Regions from separate parts of the Homo sapiens genome. Here regions 1, 2 and 4 are each linked to region 3. The links are contacts of gene promoters, found by promoter capture Hi-C in human tissues and cell types (Jung and others, 2019). All regions are on one chromosome and are shown on one strand. Each heading gives the region's core, a stretch centred on a gene start or on the middle of the fragment in contact. The rest is flanking DNA. Distances are from core to core; before and after follow the strand shown.

Evidence for each region. Contacts are between HindIII fragments. The study calls those that stand out against the background at their distance.
Region 1: a contact is called between a fragment that was not itself captured here and the fragment with the promoter of TARS2 in region 3, in 1 of the 25 tissues and cell types used here (aorta).
Region 2: a fragment that was not itself captured here is called in contact with the fragment with the promoter of TARS2 in region 3 in 1 of the 25 tissues and cell types used here (pancreas).
Region 4: the fragment with the promoter of CTSS here is called in contact with the fragment with the promoter of TARS2 in region 3 in 1 of the 25 tissues and cell types used here (IMR-90 fibroblasts).

What each region holds. Positions count from the first base shown.
Region 1 is chr1:150,823,821-150,828,415 of GRCh38, reverse strand. It overlaps ARNT (aryl hydrocarbon receptor nuclear translocator), which reads left to right. Exons shown (of 22, transcript NM_001668.4): 13 at 1,799-1,873. Among named protein-coding and RNA genes, the nearest start is that of CTSK, 18 kb to the right of the region's middle. RefSeq lists cis regulatory regions at 237, 802 and enhancers at 165-309, 730-874. The HindIII fragment of the contact is 6,293 bases long and covers 1-4,595 here.
Region 2 is chr1:150,905,684-150,910,178 of GRCh38, reverse strand. The region is part of intron 1 of CTXND2 (cortexin domain containing 2); the gene reads right to left. LOC107985204 (a long non-coding RNA gene) reads left to right here. Exons shown (of 3, transcript XR_001738231.2): 2 at 3,088-3,177. Among named protein-coding and RNA genes, the nearest start is that of SETDB1, 18 kb to the left of the region's middle. The HindIII fragment of the contact is 6,057 bases long and covers 1-4,296 here.
Region 3 is chr1:150,484,161-150,488,832 of GRCh38, reverse strand. It overlaps TARS2 (threonyl-tRNA synthetase 2, mitochondrial), which reads right to left and starts at 1,414. Exons shown (of 18, transcript NM_025150.5): 1 at 1,317-1,414; 2 at 779-975. The coding sequence starts at 1,382. LOC124904416 (a long non-coding RNA gene) reads right to left here and starts at 4,322. Exons shown (of 2, transcript XR_007066600.1): 1 at 4,044-4,322; 2 at 3,479-3,788. RefSeq lists enhancers at 1,320-1,589, 1,083-1,589. The HindIII fragment of the contact is 6,321 bases long and covers 1-4,672 here.
Region 4 is chr1:150,764,528-150,769,185 of GRCh38, reverse strand. CTSS (cathepsin S) reads left to right here and starts at 3,408. Exons shown (of 8, transcript NM_004079.5): 1 at 3,408-3,488; 2 at 4,422-4,548. The coding sequence starts at 4,423. RefSeq lists cis regulatory regions at 3,462, 3,465 and enhancers at 3,390-3,534, 3,393-3,537, 4,468-4,517. The HindIII fragment of the contact is 11,511 bases long and covers 1-4,658 here.

The sequences.
Region 1 (4,595 bases), core at 1,674-4,173, 340 kb before region 3:
TGGATAAAATAAATATTTCTAACAAATGGAACAATTGGATATCTGTATGCAAAAAAAAAAAAAAACAAAAAAAAAACCACACCCAAAAATGAAAACACATAGATCTTACCTCATACAATTTACAAAAATCAGCTTAGAGGCCTAAATGTGTAAGAGCTAAAGTTACAAATAAACTCCTAGGAGAAAATCTTTGTGATTTTGAGTTAGGCAAAAGATTTCTTACACTAAAAGCATGATTCACAGAAGAAAAAAAATTATAAATTGGATTTAATTGTAATTAAAATTTGCCCTCTTTAAAGGATATTATTAAGAAAATGAAAAGACCAGACATAAATGGAGAGAAAATAGTTACAAGTCATATACCTGAAAGAGGATTTGTACCAGGAATATATAAACAACTCATTAAGACAAACAGCTGGTAAAAAAGAGCATAAGACTTGACATTTGACTGAAGAATAAATATGCATTTATGCACATGAAAAGATGCTCAACATCTTTTTACCATTAGGAAAGTGCAAATTAAAATCACAATGAGATACCACTATATACCCACTAGAATGGCTGTAATCAAAAAGTATTGGTGAAAATGTGTAGAAGCTGGAAGGAACCCTCATACATTGCTGATAGACATGTAAAATGGTATAGCTACTAGCTTTGCAAAAGCATTTTGGCAGTTTCCTACAAAGTTAAACATACTCTTAGCCTATAACCTAGCAATTTTATTCCTGAGTATCTACCTAAGAGAAATGAAAACATGTTCACCCATAGATTTGTACACAGTTCATATCTGTATTATTCATAATAGCCAAAAAAATGAAAACTATTTAAACGTCCATTAACATTTTGTAAATGAATACACAACTGTGTTGTATCCATGTGAGAATACTACTGAGCATAAAAAGGAATAAACTACTGATAATGCAGCCATGTAGATGAACTTCAAAAATACCATGCTCAATGAAAGAAGCCAGACCCAAAAGACCACATATTATGTTGTTTTATTTATATGAAATTTGTAGAAATAGCAGAACTAGAGAGGCAGAAAGCAGATTTGTGGTTGGCTGGGGAGTTGGAGTGGGAGCAGAGATTGACTGCAGATGGCACAAGGGAACATCTTGGGGCAGTGAATGTGTTCTGAAACTGGATTGTGGTAATCATTGCACAACTATAAATTTAGTAGACATCATCAAATCATACACTTAGAATGGCTGAATTATGAATGTAAATTTTATCTAAAATTTATAATCTCATTAAAATAAATGTATAATATTCTGAGAAAGAAAAATGTTTTAGAAGCCAGCTCCTTAACAGATTCTGCCTTTTTTTAGTAGATTTCATCTTTTGTTTATTGTCTTTTTTTTTTCTCCTCCTCACTTAACTATAATCTTAGGATTAAAACAGAAGAAATAAAATCCAGGTCCCCAGCTGATGGACCAGGCCAGTTAGATGACCATAAAATTATATATGTTGGCTGGGCACGGTGGCTCACACCTGTAATCCCAGCGCTTTGGGAGGCCGAGGCGGGTGGATCACTTGAGGTCAGGAGTTCGAGACCAGCCTGACCAACATGGTGAAACCCTGTCTCTATTTAAAAAAATACAAAATTAGCCAGGTGTGGTAGCACACCCCTGTAATCCCAGCTACTTGGGAGGTTGAGACAGGAAAATTGCTTGAACTCAGGAGGTGGAGGTTGCAGTGAGCCAAGATCGCGCCATCGTACTCCAGCCTGGGCAACAAGAGCGAAACTCCATCTTAAAAAAAAAAAAGTATATATCTTACTCTTCTTTCTGTATTCTAGGAACTCTTAGGAAAGAATATTGTAGAATTCTGTCATCCTGAAGACCAGCAGCTTCTAAGAGACAGCTTCCAACAGGTAACTTTTTTCCTGGTTTGGTTCTGAATAAATATTTGTCATATTCACTCCATAAATATTGACTACTGATTAACTGAACACTGTGGCAGGCACTACAGTTTTATGTTCTTTAGTAGTTAATCTGCATTTTTAAGGAATAGAAAAGGACTAATACTTTGAAATTATGGATAATGCCCAAGGTATTTCTGTTTGGCTTTGGCTATTTACTGTCTTGTATTCAATTAACTGTATCCAAGGAGCTGTCTTTAAGGTATTTAAACTATTGCGCCAGGCATGGTGGCTCATGCGCCCAACCTCTGTAGATGCTGTGAAAATAGATGTTTTCCTCGTCTGGGCATGGTGGCTCACGCCTATAATCCCAGCACTCTGGGAGGCTGAGGCAGGTGGATCACTTGAGGCCAGGAGTTCAAGCCCAGCCTGGCCAACACAGTGAAACCCCATGTCTACTAAAAATACAAAAAATTAGCCTGGTATGGTGGTGCATGCCTGTAATCCCAGGTACTCGGGAGGCTGAGGCACGAGAATCACTTGAACCTGGGAGGCAGAGGTTGCTGTGAACTGAGATCATGCCACTGTACTCTAGCCTGGATGACAGAGCTAGACTCTGTCTCAAAAAAAAAAAGATAAAAAAGAAAATTGTATACTTCACTAAGCTTGTAGTAGAAAAATTCATTTTATATAGTTTTTTTTTTTTTTTAGAAGGAGTCTAGCTCTGTCGCCAGGGTGGAGTGTAGTGTGCAATCTCAGCTCATTGTAACCTCTGCCTCTTAGGTTCAAGCGATTCTCCTGTTTCAGCCCCCCGAGTAGCTGGGATTATAGGCACATGCTGCCACGCCCAGCTAATTTTTGTATTTTTAGTAGAGGCGGGGTTTCACCACGTTGGCCAGGATGGTCTCGATCTCCTGACCTCGTGATCCACCCACCTCAGCCTCCCAAGGTGCTAGGATTACAGGCATGAGCCATTGCGCCCAGCCTAGACTGTTCTTTTATGGATGAGTGAGAGTCGTAATGAATTATATAAGCTGACTGTTAATTGTCATTCTCAGGCTCCAGCTCCTGAAAATATCTGGTGAATTTTATAGACATGGCTTTTGATAACGGTTTTTACTTTGTATTAGACAAGTTAATTAACCTCTTTAAGTCTCAGTAGTGTCGTTATTGATACAATGAATATATTAATAGTACCTAAATTCAGACGGTTGTTGGGAAGATTAAATAAGGTAATGAATATAAAACACATCACCCAGTATTTGATACGTAGTATTACAAAATAAGTGGTTAGCTTCTAATACTGTTTATTTTTATTTTTTTAATTTTTAGGAATATAGAGTTAAAAGATTATTTTCTATTCCATGAGACTAGTATCTAAAATAACCTAAAATTGGCTGGGCATGGTCGCTCATGCCTGTAATCCCAGCACTTTGGGAGGCTGAGGCAGGTGATCACTTGAAGCCAGGAGTTTGAACCAGCCTGGCCAACATCTTGAAACCCTGTCTCTACTAAAAATACAAAAATTAGCCGGGTATGGTGGCTCATGCCTGTAGTCCCAGCTACTTGGGAGGCTGAGGCATGAGAATTGCTTGAACCCAGGAGGCAGAGGTTGCAGTGACCCAAGATTGCCCCACTGCACTCCAGCCTGGGCGATAGAGCAAGACTGTCTAAAAATAAAATAAAATAAAAAATAAAATAACTAAAATTACTTTTAAAAAATAAAAGCAAAACAAGACTAAAGCCAACTTAATTTTATTTATGGAAACCTCTGTAGATGCTGTGAAAACAGATGCTCTCATCTGGGTGCAGTGGCTCACACCTATAATCCCAGCACTTTGGGAGGCCAAGGCAGGCGGATCATTTGAGGTCAGGAGTTTGAGACCAGCCTAGCCAACATGGTGAAAACCCGTCTCTACTAAAAATACAAAAATTAGCTGGGCGTGATGGTGCACGCCTCTAGTCCCCAGCTACTCAGGAGGCTGAGGCAGGAGAATCACTTGAACCCTGGAGGCGAGGTTGCAGTGAGCCAAGATTGCACCACTGCACTCCAGCCTGGCGACAGAGCGAGACTCCATCTCAAAAAAAAAAAAAAAGAAAAAGAAAAGAAAACAGATGTTCTCAGGTTTCGGGGAAAAAATAGGATTGAAGAGCAATATATAAGCTATATTCTGTGTCCTTAAACTTACCAAATTTCTGGTATAGACTTGTAAAGCTAGGTCAGAGTATCTTTAATGGATTTCCCAAGGGAAGTAGGGAAACAGTCTTTTCCTTCCTGGAAATAAGTTATTATTCCTATTTGACTAGAATAGTATTAGGTTGGTGCAAAAGAAATTGTGATTTTTTGCCATTTTTTTAAATGGCAAAAAATGCAATTACTTTTGCACCAACCTAATAAGAAAGCTTGAGTCTCTGGCCGGGCTCAGTGGCTCACGCCTGTAATCCTAGCACTTTGGGAGGCCGAGGCAGGCGGATCCCGAGGTCGGGAAATCGAGACCATCCTGGCCAACATGGTGAAACCCCGTCTATACTAAAAATACAAAAATTAGCTGGGCGTGGTGGCACGTGCCTATAATCTCAGCTACTTGGGAGGCTGAGGCAGGAGAATCGCTTGAACCAGGGAGTCGGAGGTTGTAGTGAGCCGAGATTGCGCCACTGCACTCTAGCCTGGTGACAGAGCGAGACTCCGTCTCAAAAAAAAAAAAGTCTGGGCACGGTGGCTCACACTTGTAAT
Region 2 (4,495 bases), core at 19-2,518, 420 kb before region 3:
CAGCCTGGGTGACAGATGGAGACCCGTCTCAAAAAAAAAAAAAAAGAAAAAAAAAAAACAGAAAAAAGAAAAAGAAATTGACCTTCTGGTCTTAAAGCTTAAAACTTACATTTGTTTTATGTTGAGTTCCTTCTTCAGGAAAGGGCCACCAGGCCTCTCAAAAAAAGTATCAAGGAACTGAAACTCAACCAGATCATCCCATCCTGACAATGAAGTGCAAGACCCCTCATTGGTCACAAGTGCTTTCTTGGCCTCCTGAGTTCCTGTTTTCCTACACATTGTTACATTTCTTCCTTGCTATATAAACCTCTAATTTTAGTTGGTCAGGGAGATGGATTTGTGACTGAGTTCCGGTTTCCTCTGCTGCAGCACCTGAGTAAAGCCTTCTTCTTTGGCAATACCTGTCATCTCAGGGGCAGGTATTGCTCATCTTTCTGTGTGGTGAGCAGCAGGACCTAGACCGAACTCCTGGTGTTTTGGTAACAATTTCACACCACATACAAAGATAAACTTAAAATGGATCAAAGACCTAAATGTAAGGATTCTTAGATATGACAGCAAAATCACGAGCAACAAAAAAGAGAGAAACTGGACTTCATCAAAATTTAAAACTTTTTTCTTTGAGACAGGGTCTCACTTTGTCACCCAGGCTGGAGTGCTATGGTGCCGTCTGGGGTCACTGCAGCCTCGACCTCCCAGGCTAAATTGATCCTCCCATCTCAACCTTCCAAGTAGCTGGGACTACAGGTGCACGTCATCATGCCCGGCTAATTGTTTTTTGTTTGTTTGTTTTGGTAGAGATGGAGTTTCACCATGTTGCCCAGGCTGGTCTCAAACTCCTGGGCTCAAGAGATCTGCCCTCCTTAGCCTCCCAAAGTGTTAGGATTGTATGAGCTACTGTGCCTGGTCAACACTTTTGTACTTTTTTTTTTTTTTTTTTTGAGAAGGAGTCTTGCTCTGTCGCCCAGGCTGGAGGGCAATGGCGTGATCTCGGCTCACTGCAACCTCTGCCTCCCAGGTTCAAGCGATTCTCCTGCCTCACCCTCCCGAGTAGCTGGGATTATAGGCGCCCCCACCATGCCCGGCTACGTTTTGTATTTTTAGTAGAGTCGGGTTTCACCATGTTGGCCAGGCTGGGCTCAAACTCCTGACCTCAGGTGATCTGCCCCCCTTGGCCTCCCAAAGTGCTGGGATTACAGGCGTGACCCACTGCGCCCAGCCAACTTTTGTACTTTAAGAAGCTTATTATCAAGAAAATGGGCTGGGCACGGTGGCTTATGCCTGACCAGCACTTTGGGAGGATGAGGTGGGAGGATCACTTGAGGTCAGGAGTTTGAGACCAGCCTGGGTAGTAAGGAGATACCTTGTTTCTTAATTTTTTTTTTTTTAATTAGCTAGGTGTGTGGCATATGTGTGTGGTCCTAGCTACTGGAGAGGCTGAGGCAGAAGGATCCTTTGAGCCCAGGAGTTCAGGGTTATAGTGAGCTATGATCGCACCACTGTACTCCAGCCTGGGTGACGGAGAGAGACCTGATAACCAAAGTTACAACGAAACAATGAAAAGACAACTCAATTAAAAATTAGGCAAAGGATATGAATAGAAATTTCTTTTTCTGCATAAGGAAGATATGCAAATGGCCAATAAACACATTTTTTAAATGGTCAACGTAATTAGTCATCAGGGAAATGGAAATCAAAACTTTGAGATACCACTTCACACCCACTAGGATGACTAGAATCAAGTCAGATTAAGTGTTGACAAAGGTAGAAAGTAATTGAAACCCTCATTGACGGTTGGTGGGAATGTAAAGTGGCAAAGTTACTTTGGAAAACAGTCTGGAAGTTCCTAAAATTATGAAACATAAGAGTTACTGGCCAGGTATGGTGGCTCACGCCTATAATCCCAGCACTTTGGGCAGCCAAGGTGGGTGGAGGATCACTTTAGTCCAGGAGTTCAAGACCAGCCTGGGCAACATGGCAAACCTTCCTCTCTACAGAAAATACAAAAATTAGTTAGATGTGATGGCGCACACCTGTAATCCCAGCTACTTGGGGGGCAGAGGCGGGAGGATCACCTGAGCCTGGGAGGCTGCAGTGAGCTTTGATCATGCCACCATACTCCAGCCTGAGTGACAGAGTGAGACACTGTCTAAAAAAAAAAAAAAAAGCTGGCTGGGCACGGTGGCTCACGCCTGTAATCCCAGCACTTTGGGAGGCCAAGGCGGGTGGATCACAAGGTTAGGAGATCAAGACCATCCTGGCTAACACGGTGAAACCCCATCTCTACTAAAAATACAAAAAATTAGCCGGGCGTGGTGGCAGGTGCCTGTAGTCCCAGCTACTCGGGAGGCTGAGGCAGGAGAATGGCGTGAACCTGGGAGGCGGAGCTTGCGGTGAGCCAAGATTGCGCCACTGCACTCCAGCCTGGGTGAGAGTGCGAGACTCCGTCTCAAAAAAAAAAAAAAAAAAAAAAAGCCACCATATGACGCAGCAATTCCACTCCTATGGCTGTCCCCAGGAGAAATGAAAACATGTGACCACACAAAAACTTATACAAGAATGTTTGTAGCAGCATTATTCATCATAGCCAAAAGGTAGAAACAACTCAAATGTCCATCAACTTATAAATGGATAAGCAAAGTGTGGTATGTCTACACAATAGACTATTATTGGCCATAAAAAGGAAGTACATACTACTTGGATGAAACTTAAAGCATTAAGCTGAGTGAAAGAAACAAGTCACAAACGCCCCCAGCATATTATATAATTCCATTCACATGTAAGTCTAGAATAGAGAAATCTATAGAGACAGATTAGTGGTTGCTTAGAGCTGGAGGTGGGGGATGAGGGGGTGAAAGTTAAATGATACAGGTTTTCTTTTGGAGGTGATAAAAATGTTCTACAACTGTGGTAATGGTAAAACATTTCTGTGAATGTGCTAAAAACCATTCAATTGTACATTTGAAATGGTTGAATTGTATGTGAATTATATCTTAATAAAGCTGGTTTTTGTAAAACCTTAGTTCAGTTTTAAATTCCTAATCTTATAGAGGATTTAGAGTTCTATTAGCTCTTCTCCCTTTTCAGGCTTCTTCTTCTGCATTGTACAGGATCAGGAAGAAAGGAAGGGGAAAATGTGAAGTGTTTCTCTATTTAATGAATCAGCTGTGGCCAACTGTGAGTAGGTGACCTGGTCTTACTCTGGTTAGATCTGGTGGTTTCAGAGTGAAGGATGTTTGTAGTTTTTTGAGTAGCGTTTCTCTTCATTCTGGACTTTTCTGTCATTGAAGACCCCTTCAAATGGTGCTGCTTATCCTCTATTCTCCCAACCTAAACTCACGTTGGATATCACATGGCTTGGTACAGTGGTCTCCTGGCACCTCCCACTGCTCCTGCTCCTTCGGAGACACCTGAAGTCCTTCAAGGGGAGTGGCCAGACTGTGATGGGTTGGGGGGATTGGCCACATTTTCTTCCTAGGCATACTCTGCCAAGGTACCTATAAACCCTGCCAGCACAGATTATTCCAGTGGGCCTTCCACTTTCAGATCTCTGTAGCCAAGAAATTGACATGATTTTTTATGTTTGCACAGGTTAAAAACTCACACCATGCTTTACTCCAACCTGACCAGAGTGGTTTGGCAGGTTCTACAGTTTAAAGCATCTATCTAGGGAATGAAATGCTGTTAGTCTCTCCTTGCTGGTGTCACCAATTGTACCAATGTCTCTCTTGGCATGCCCTCATCTTTGGCTTTGGGAGGAAGGGGAAGTACTTTTATCTTTGCTTCTCATCACAAATTTTGTACATCCCATAATGCCGATAATGAGAATTCCCAGTTGCCCTCCCAGTTCATTCTTTTTGTTGTTGTTGTTGTTGTTTTTGAGGTAGGGTCTCACTCTGTCACCCAGGCTGGAGTGCAGTGGCATGGTCATAGCTCAATGCAGCCTCAACCTCCTGGGCTCAAGTGATCCTCCTGCCTCAGCCTCCTGGATAGCTGTGACTACAGGTGCCCACCACCATACTTGGCTGATTTTTAAATTTTTTGTAGAGACGAGGCCTTACTATGATGCCCAGGCTGGTTTCAAACTCCTGGGCTCAAGCAACCCTCTGCCCACCTCAGCTTCCCAAAGTGCTGGGATTATAGGCATGAGCCACCACACCCGGCCCCAGTTCATCCTTCTTTTTTTTTTGAGATGGAGTCTCGCTCTGTCGCCCAGCCTGGAGTGCAGTGGTGTGATCTCAGCTCACTGCAAGCTCCGCCTCCCGGGTTCACGCCATTCTCCTGCCTCAGCCTCCCGAGCAGCTGGGACTACAGGTGCCTGCCACCACACCCGGCTAATTTTTTGTATTTTTAGTAAAGATGGGGTTTCACCGTGTTAGCCAGGATGGTCTCGATATCCTGACCTCGTGATCTGCCCGTCTCGGCCTCCCAAAGTGCTGGGATTACAGGCGTGAGCCACTGCGCCCGGCCTTATTCTTTATATATACTGTGGTGG
Region 3 (4,672 bases), core at 165-2,664:
GTTACCAGAGGCTGGAAAGGATGGGGGAGGGGAGATGAAGAGGTTGGCTAATGGGTACAAAAATAGAGTTAGACAGAAGGAATATGCTCTAATGTTCCATAGCAGAGTTGGGTGAATACAGTTAATAATAATTTATTGTATATTTCAAAATAGCTAGAAGATTTGAAATAGTCCCAACACAAAGAAATGATAAATGTTTGGGGTAACAGATATCCTGAACACCCTGATTTGATCATTACATATTGTATGCATATATCAAAATATCACATATACCCATTCATATGTTCAATTATTATGTATCAATTATTAAAAAGTAAATTAATGATTTAAAACAGACAGGGTTACAATCCACAGTGGGGAGAAAGTTGCTCATCTCTCAGCAACTGTAAACTTGCAAAGGTGAAATGAGTTACCAGAGCAACAGAAGCTTTCATTTCTTTCCCCAATGAAAGGACAGAGACTCTGATGCAGAAACTAATACAGATAAAACAAATCTCAGGCCGGGTTTGGTGGCTCATGCCTGTAATCCCAGCACTTCGGGAGGCTGAGATGGAAGGATCGCTTGAGCCCAGGAGTTCAAGACTAGCCTGGGCAACATGGAGAGACCCCGTCTGTATAAAAGAACAACAACAAAAAACAAAAACAAAATCTTCAGGAAAGGCTATCTTAATGGGGACGGAACAGAAACAAGCAGACCAAGTTTTCTTCCCCTGCTCAAGTGAAGAGAAAGTAAAGGGGCAGAAGGATAATCCTGGTAGTTACAGGATGGGCCTGTTACCTGATCTGCCGGGCTAGTTGGTAGGGGGTTGTGTTCCATGCCACAGCATCAATTTTCTGGCCTCCAGGAAGTGATATCTTAATAGTCCGGGGTTCCTTCTGTGCCATGCTTGCTAATCTCTTTACCTGAGCAGCCCACAGCTCCTCAAAAAGGCCAAGCCGCTCTGCCAACCAGCGTGGAGGGGTCGACACAACTGCCTGGAGGGAAAGATATATTAGCAGGTAACACACGTCCCATCATTCTTTCTTAGAATTGCAGATGATGGCACTTTGGGATGGTTAAGTGGACTTCGTCCGAATTCCTACTTTTTAAGGGGATTGGGTGATACAAGACCCTAGGCTGGGGGTCCTTCGAGCTCAGAGTCCCCCAGACCGCTAACTCGAGAATTAGATAACGAGTTTAGATACGAGTCCTTTTCTGGGGACTCGGAGGACCAGGGAGAGGAGGAGTGGCGTGAGGCTGGGTTAACATAAAAATTTGGGGGCTTCGGCTGGGCTAAGTCTGATGCGGATCGGAGCTTTGGGGGTGCCTCACGCACCGTGTGTAGCCTGCAAGCCTGTAAACCTTGGAGCCGGAGACACCGCCACCTCTGATACAGGGCCATGTTCCTTCACACCAGTGCCTACATCCTCAAACAGATTATCGCCGCTTCTCCTCCACGTAATTCTTCATTGGCTTCTGGTCCAACAAAGTCCGTGTCTATTGGTTACTACAGCTGCCACTCTAGTCTGGCACCACCTCCAGGAACTCCGAAGAGGTACACCCTACACAGCACCAGCAGCGGTGTGAGTGGTTCCGGCTGACCGGAAGACCGAAAATGTAACACACCCTCGCTATTCCCCCAGACCCGTGGCGTTTCAGCTGAAACCCAAAAATAGCAATTAGGCGTCCTGTGGCTTTGAGGACAAGGGCAGGTGAACTTTTGAGGGCGAGAGTGGGAGAAAACCAGACAGGAAATGGTAGTAATTTCCCTTTAACTATACATTTTATTTTACGTGGTCCTTACAGCAAGTAGCAAAACTTAAGAGCATAGACTGGGGAACCAGACAGACCTAGTGTAAATTCTGGATCTGCCATTAACTATGTAATTTTGGGAAAATTATTAAACTTCTCATATTTATTTAATAGAGACCGGGGGGGGCGGGAGGGGGGGGCGGGTCTCACTATGTTGGCCAGGGTAGTCTCGAACTCCTGGCCTCAAGCAATCCCTCCCCTCCCCCCCACCAAACCGCCACCGCGCTCCGGCCTCCCAGAGTTCTGGAATTACAGGCATGAGCCGCCTTGCCTGACCTATTTAATTTCTCTAAGCCTCAATTTTCTCAACTATAAAATGAGAATAGTGTTGCTCCCAATTGTTGAGTTAAATTTTATGTAAATCGTCTAGTGTGGCCCATGGTTTTTTGGTAATGGGCAAAAGCAACAAGAAGCTATTATGATAAATGACTGTAACAGTTTTATTTTTTAATTTTGAGACAAGGTCTCACCGTTGCCCAGGCTGGAGTGCAGGGGTACAATCATGGCTCACTGCAGTCTCGACCTCCTGGGCTCAACTGACCACCTCAGCCTCTGGAGTAACCACTTTAAAGCTGGAGCAAAGATGGCCGCGCGCAGTGGCTCACGCTGTAATCCCAGCACTTTGGGAGGCCGAGGCAGGTGGATCACCTGAGGTCAGGAGTTCTAGACCAGCCTGGCCAACATGGTGAAACCCCGTCTCTACTAAAAATACAAAAATTAGCTGGGCGTGGTGGTGGGCGCCTGTAATCCCAGCTACTTGGGAGGCCGAGGCGGGTGGATCACCTGAGGTCAGGAGTTCTAGACCAGCCTGGCCAACATGGTGAAACCCCGTCTCTACTAAAAATACAAAAATTAGCTGGGCATGGTGGTGGGCGCCTGTAATCCCAGCTACTTGGGAGGCTGAGACAGGAGAATCGCTTGAACCCGGGAGGTGGAGGTTGCAGTGAGCCGAGATCACGCCATGCACTCCAGCCTGGGGGACAAGAGCGAGACTTCATCTCAAAACAAAACAAAAACAAAAAAGCTGGAATCAAGAATCTGCAGAGGTCAGTTTGAGTCCCTTTATACTCATGGTGCTTAATAGGGACTTTATAGACCTTTTAATCTTTTTTTTTTTTTTTTGAGATGGAGTTTCACTCTTGTTGCCCAGGCTGGAGTGCAGTGGCGTGATCTCGGCTTACCGCAACCTCCGCCTCCCCAGGTTCAAGCGCTTCTCCTGCCTCAGCCTCCCGAGTAGCTGGGATTACAGGCATGTGCCACCCCAGGCCCAGCTAATTTTGTATTTTTAGTAGAGACAGGGTTTCTCCATGTTGGTCAGGCTGGTCCCGAACTCCCAGCATCAGGTGATCCGCCTGCCTCAGCCTCCCAAAGTGCTGGGATTACAGGCGTGAGCCACCATGCCCGGCCGAGACCTTTTAATCTGACAGATGAGGAATTTAAGGTCAAACAGCAAGTGCTGATGGTGATTTCTGAATCCAAGCTTGGTTTTCTTTTACCACACCATGCTTTCTCTAGAAGAGTTTGCTCCCAGTATACTCCCCCATCACCTCAGAAAGAGGTGCCTGACTAGAATTTTAGCTCTCTGCTCCCTACATAAGCCCTTTGCCTCTAATTCCTATCCCAGCTCTCAACTTCCTTTATCCTTTCTCTTCCCTCTCCCTGATACATCTAGGACACAGGACTAGGTAAATTTCATCAAATTTACTCAGTAAATATGGGAACATGGTCAGATTTGTAGTAAAGTATGAAGGGAAACTGACTTGGGGGTAGCCATCAGGCTGTCAGTAATTCTCATTAGTCCCCTCACCTGGAGGTGGGGATGGTTAGAGTTGGTTCTGAAGTTTCAATGGTGATAGAATCAAGGGTTGTAGAGGAAGAGGTGTCAGAAAAAGCAGTTTAATCAAGGTTTCCGGAGAGACCAGGTTTCCCGGGCAGGGCAGTTGATCTGAGTCACAGGAGCCTCCATGGATCTTGGGTCCATCTTCTGGTAGACACCCTGAAATACAAAGAGAAAGAGACAAGAGTGTGGGAGAGGAAGATAACTTGTGTGTGTGTGGTTTGGAGAAGGTAGTTAAGAATTTTTAAATGGCATTCAGAAAGGGTGGCAACAGGCAGAATTCTTCTCATGCCTCTGCACCAAAAGGGGAAAGGTGTATTGCAGGCAACAAAATGGTAGGTGCCCAATAATTATTGAATCAAGTATGTACCAATCACGGTATTGATTTGATGCTCTCATTTACTAACTGCTTACTGTGTGCAATGCAGTGAGCTGGGTGCTGAGGGGATGCCGATCAATCAACTACCACATCATCACCTATGTAACTTGTGTTGCAGTGGAGGAAGGAAGGAATGTTGAGTTATTCCATCCGCCCTCTGTAAGAAGCAAGCAAGCAAGTAAGCAAGTGCAAGAGCAAGCTAAGGCCAATTCATGAGTTACTGGTTCTTCTACAACTTCGGACTTGTGACTAGCATATGCCTCAGTATTGGGGAATTTTAATCCATTAGTCAGCCTAGGAAACATCTATTCTTTTTTTTTTTTTTTTTTTTTTTTTTGAGGTGAAGTCTTGCTCTGTTGCCCGGCTGGAGTGCAGTGGCATGATCTTGGCTCACTGCAACCTCCGCCTCCTGGGTTCAAGTGATCCTCCTGCCTCAGCTTCCCCAGTAGCTGGGATTACAGGTGTACGCCACCACACCCAGCTAATTTTTTTTGAGTCAGAGTCTTGCTCTGTCGCCGAGGCTGGAGTGCAGTGGCGCTATCTTGGCTCACTGCAACCTCTGCCTCCCGGGTTCAAGTGATTCTTCTGCCTCAGCCTCCTGAGTAGCTGGGATTACAGGTGCGCGCCACCACGCTCGGCTAATTTTTGTATTTTTAGTAGAGAC
Region 4 (4,658 bases), core at 2,159-4,658, 280 kb before region 3:
GCTCCTTGGAGAAATGGCTGATTCCAGGTCTGGGGCAGGAATTGTTCAAGACAAACCTGCAATAGCCTGTCATATTAGAAAGAAAGGAAGCTTTTAAAGAGTACTAATATTATGCCAAATATACAAACTCTGTCTGCACCAAAGAGCCAGTTTGAATAAATTCCTACAGACCAAAAATGAGACAATATGAGTATCAATAAGGATAAAACTGGAATGGATTGAAACACATCAAATATGTTTAAATCCATGAATTCATAATGATATAAACATAACTCAATGGTTTCACAATATATGGAGCTTATTTAAATCTCAATTCAAACAAACTATTAAAAAATGTATAAGACAGTCCAGAAAATGTGAACATTGATAGGATGTCTGATGACATTAAGAAATTATTGTCTTAATTTCTTATGACAATAAAGTGGCTCACACCTGTAAACCCAGTACTTAGGGAGGCTGAGGTGGGCAGATTACCTATGGTCAGGAGTTCGAGACAAGCCTGGCCAATGTGGTGAAACCCCATCTCTACTAAAAATACAAAAATTAGCTGGGTGTGATGGCACATGCCTGTAATCCCAGCCACTTGGGAGGCTGAGGCAGGAGAATCGCTTGAACTCGGCAGGCAGAGATTGCAGTGAGCTGGGATCACACCACTGCACTCCAGCCTGGGCAAGTGAGTGAGACTCTGTCTCAGAAAAAAAAAAAAAAGAAAATTATTGTTCATTTATTTTAGATGTGATGATGGTATTGTGGTATTATATTTGTTTAATAGTCTCTGTCTTTTAAAGACACACACAGGGACATTTACGTATGAAATGACAGAATGTCTAGAATTTATTTAATATAATTCAGGTAGTGAGAGTGGGAATATAAATAAAATAAGATTGGCCATGTACTGATCATTGTTGAAACAAGACAATGGTTTCACGGCAGCTCATTTTACTACTATTTTTACTTTTACATGTGTTTTAAATTTTCCATAAGCAGTATCTTTTTAAAAAAAACTGTATGGCTACAAACACAAACATGTCTACTACAGCTGAGATGAATCAACATTATAATGATGTTACTTCTCCCTAAATTTATGCATATATTCAAATAAAAACTCTAATAGCCAGATGTGGGGGCTCATGCCTGTAATCCCAGCACTTCAGGAGGCCAAGGTGGGCAGATTGCTTGAGCCCAGGAGTTTGAGGCCAGCCTGGGCAACATGGTGAAACCCCTTATCTACAAAAAACAAAAAACAAAATCAGCCAGGCATGGTGGTGTGCACCTGTAGTCCCAGCCACTCCAGAGGCTGAGGCGGGAGGATCACTTGAGCCCAGGAGGTCAAGGCTGCAGTGAGCCATGATTGCATCACTGCACTCCAGCCTGGGTGACAGAATGAAACCCTGTCTCCAAAAGAAAAAAGCAAAAAACTCCAACAGAGTTTTTCAGGGAACTTGATAAACTGATTCAAAAAATTCATATAAAGAAGAGTTAACAAGTACAAAATACAAAGACAATGTTTAAAAAGAAGAACAAAGATAGGGTGGCCTAGATGACTTGCCTTACCATACGTGGAGACATATTACAAAGCTGTTTTAATTAAAACTGTGTGATACTGAAGTAGCAAAAGATAAAAAGAACAGCTTCATGAGCTCAGAAACTGACCTATCTATGTATGAGAATTTGGTGTACAATAGAGGTAGAATCAAAATTGGAAAACAAAGAAAATAAGCTCCCTACGTCATACCATACACAAAACTAAATTCCAGGTGAATTAAACACCTAAAAGCAGTAGCCATAGAAAAGATAAATAAAACACTCTCTGAAAGTATAAAAATAAGATGAGTGTATCTTTATTACATTTGGATGAGGAAAATTTTCTTATACAAAAACAGTATAGATTGATTATACGGAAAAGCTGAATAAAATGTTCTACCTCAACATAAAAAAATTTCATATAGAAAAACTCACTATAAACAAGACTAAAGGACAAGTGGAATTTCATAGGCTTATGCAAAGGAAGAAAAAATAAAATAAAAGACAAGTGGAAGACTAAGGGAGGATGTTTTTAAGGGTATATAACTGTCAAAGATTAGAAGCCAGAATATATTTTTAAAACACATACACCTTGGCCGGGCACGGTGGCTCACACCTGTAATCCCAGCACTTTGGGAGGCTGAGGCGGGTGGATCACGAGGTGAAGAGTTCAAGACCAGCCTGGCCAAGATGGTGAAACCCTGTCTCTACTAAAAATACAAAAATTAGCTGGACATGCTGGCAGGTGCCTGTAATCCCAGCTACTTGGGAGTCTGAGGCAGAGAATCGCTTGAACCTGGGAGGTGGATGTTGCAGTGAGCCAAGATCGCACCAATGCACTCCAGCATGGGAGACAAAGCACGACTCCGTCTCGGAAAACACACAACACACACACACACACACACCTCCCACAAATCACTAAGAAAATGCAACAATACAATAGAAAAATGAGCAAAAAAGATGAACAGGAAATTCACAGAAAATTCAAACGGTCAATAAATGTGTGAAAAGATCCTCAACCTCATTAGTAATTAGGAAAATGCAAATTTAAAAGATGATAGTTCGTCTTGCTCCCACCCCACCCAGGTAATCATTCTCAATTGGATATATTTGAGTGTATCCTTTTTTCCATGAATATACTAACACATACACACACACACACACACACACACGCATATTACTAAACTATACATATAGTATATATTAATAAAGACATTTTGAGTTTGATGAACGAAGGAATGGCTGAGTGAGAACCAGACAATATCAGATCATGAATGAGTTGTGTTAAAAGCAGTAAGACAGGTTTTCCTAGGAAATCATACAAGGAGCTGGGATTTGGGGAGCTTTATCTAAATCTCTTTATAACTAAATGTTTTCCATGTAAAAGTTGGTGTTTTTAAAATTCAATTTAATTTTTTTTTTGAGATAGGGTCTTGATATGTCATCCAGGCTGAAACACAGTGGCATAATCATGGCTCACTGCAGCCTTGTCCTCCTAGACTCAAGCAATTCTCCCACCTCACCCTCCCCCTCAGCTGGGACTACAAGCATGCACCACCATGCCCAGCTAATTAAAAAAAATTTTTTTGCAGAGACAGGGTCTCACTATATTGCCTAGGCTGGTCTTGAACTCCTGGCCTCAAGTGATCCTCCCGCCTCAGCCTCCCAAAGTGCTGGGATTATAGGCATGAGCCACTGGGCTCAGACAAGGGCTCTTCTTGATGGCTTACTGTATCCACTTTGTCCCCAAGACCATAGGGAAATGACTAGAGGTGACTGTACTAGCTAGATTTTAAATGAAACTGAAATGAAAGTTCACTTCCTCATTTTGAGTACCTCATGTGACAAGTTCCAATTTCTTTTCAAGTCAATTGAACTGAAATCTCCTTGTTGCTTTGAAATCTTAGAAGAGAGCCCACTAATTCAAGGACTCTTACTGTGGGAGCAACTGCTGGTTCTATCACGTATGTACTCTTTGTTCTTTTTCTCCCATTTGGTCTTCAAACACTCTGTGTTTGTAACTTGTTCTGCCTGCTAGGTTTTAAATCTTTGGTTTCAGGAAGTAAACTAAAAAATCGTGTCGTTCAATTTGCCTCTTCTCTATTTTTAAAAAGTTAATGTCTGCTTGAGCATCTAAGCATCTAAGTTGAGACTGAAACATGGCTTTCTTTGGAATATAATTTAAAGGCTTACATGTTTAAAATTCCAGATGTTTTCAATTAAAAAGAAATGGAAAAGAAAGTAGAATCCAGTTTGAGGGAGCTAGTCGCTGAATTTCTGTTGATGTCTCTTGAATTAAATACAGAAGTGGCATTTTAAAGAGTAGTTAATTGCCTCATTTGAAACAGATGTCTGATCATTAAAAAAAAAAAAACGTAAAAAGGAAAATTACCTACCTAAAGATGTGAAAGCAATAGATGAGAATTGTCTTTTAACTATCTGTAAAGACTGTGGATATTTAAACAGGTCAGTTAAGAAGAGCCCATGTATTCAAAAATTCAGGAGATAAACTGATTTTTCAGAGGTTTGTCTCTCTTAAGGATGATTTTTTTTTTTTTTTGAGAGAGAGAGAAAGAGATTTCCTTTGATTAGATTTGTTGGCAAATCCTGGAAAGTCCCTGTTTTCTAACCCTCTAGATGTGTTTGGTTTACCAGATATTGGGAAATTCCTGGAAATCACTTTTTAAAGTGCTACTAAGCATTGGAAGTAGTATTTCTGACATAAATCTGCAGCTGTTCCCTGTGACTATATATCCCAGGAATTTTCCTGTATAATTCTGTTTATAATAGTCTGTCCCTTTGATAGACTTTGCATTGTTATTTTCTCTTATGAAAACATGTGGTCACAACATATGCAGCTAATAGCAACACTTCCTATGTTACCTTTCCTTACACAGAATGAAACGGCTGGTTTGTGTGCTCTTGGTGTGCTCCTCTGCAGTGGCACAGTTGCATAAAGATCCTACCCTGGATCACCACTGGCATCTCTGGAAGAAAACCTATGGCAAACAATACAAGGAAAAGGTAGATTGGATTGCCACTCGAGCGATATGCTTTTAAAGGAGTACTGTTTTCTACCTCTTAAAATTGTGTTCTTACAGGCAGTGTTTTCAGTAAATATTTAAGCTGGGTGT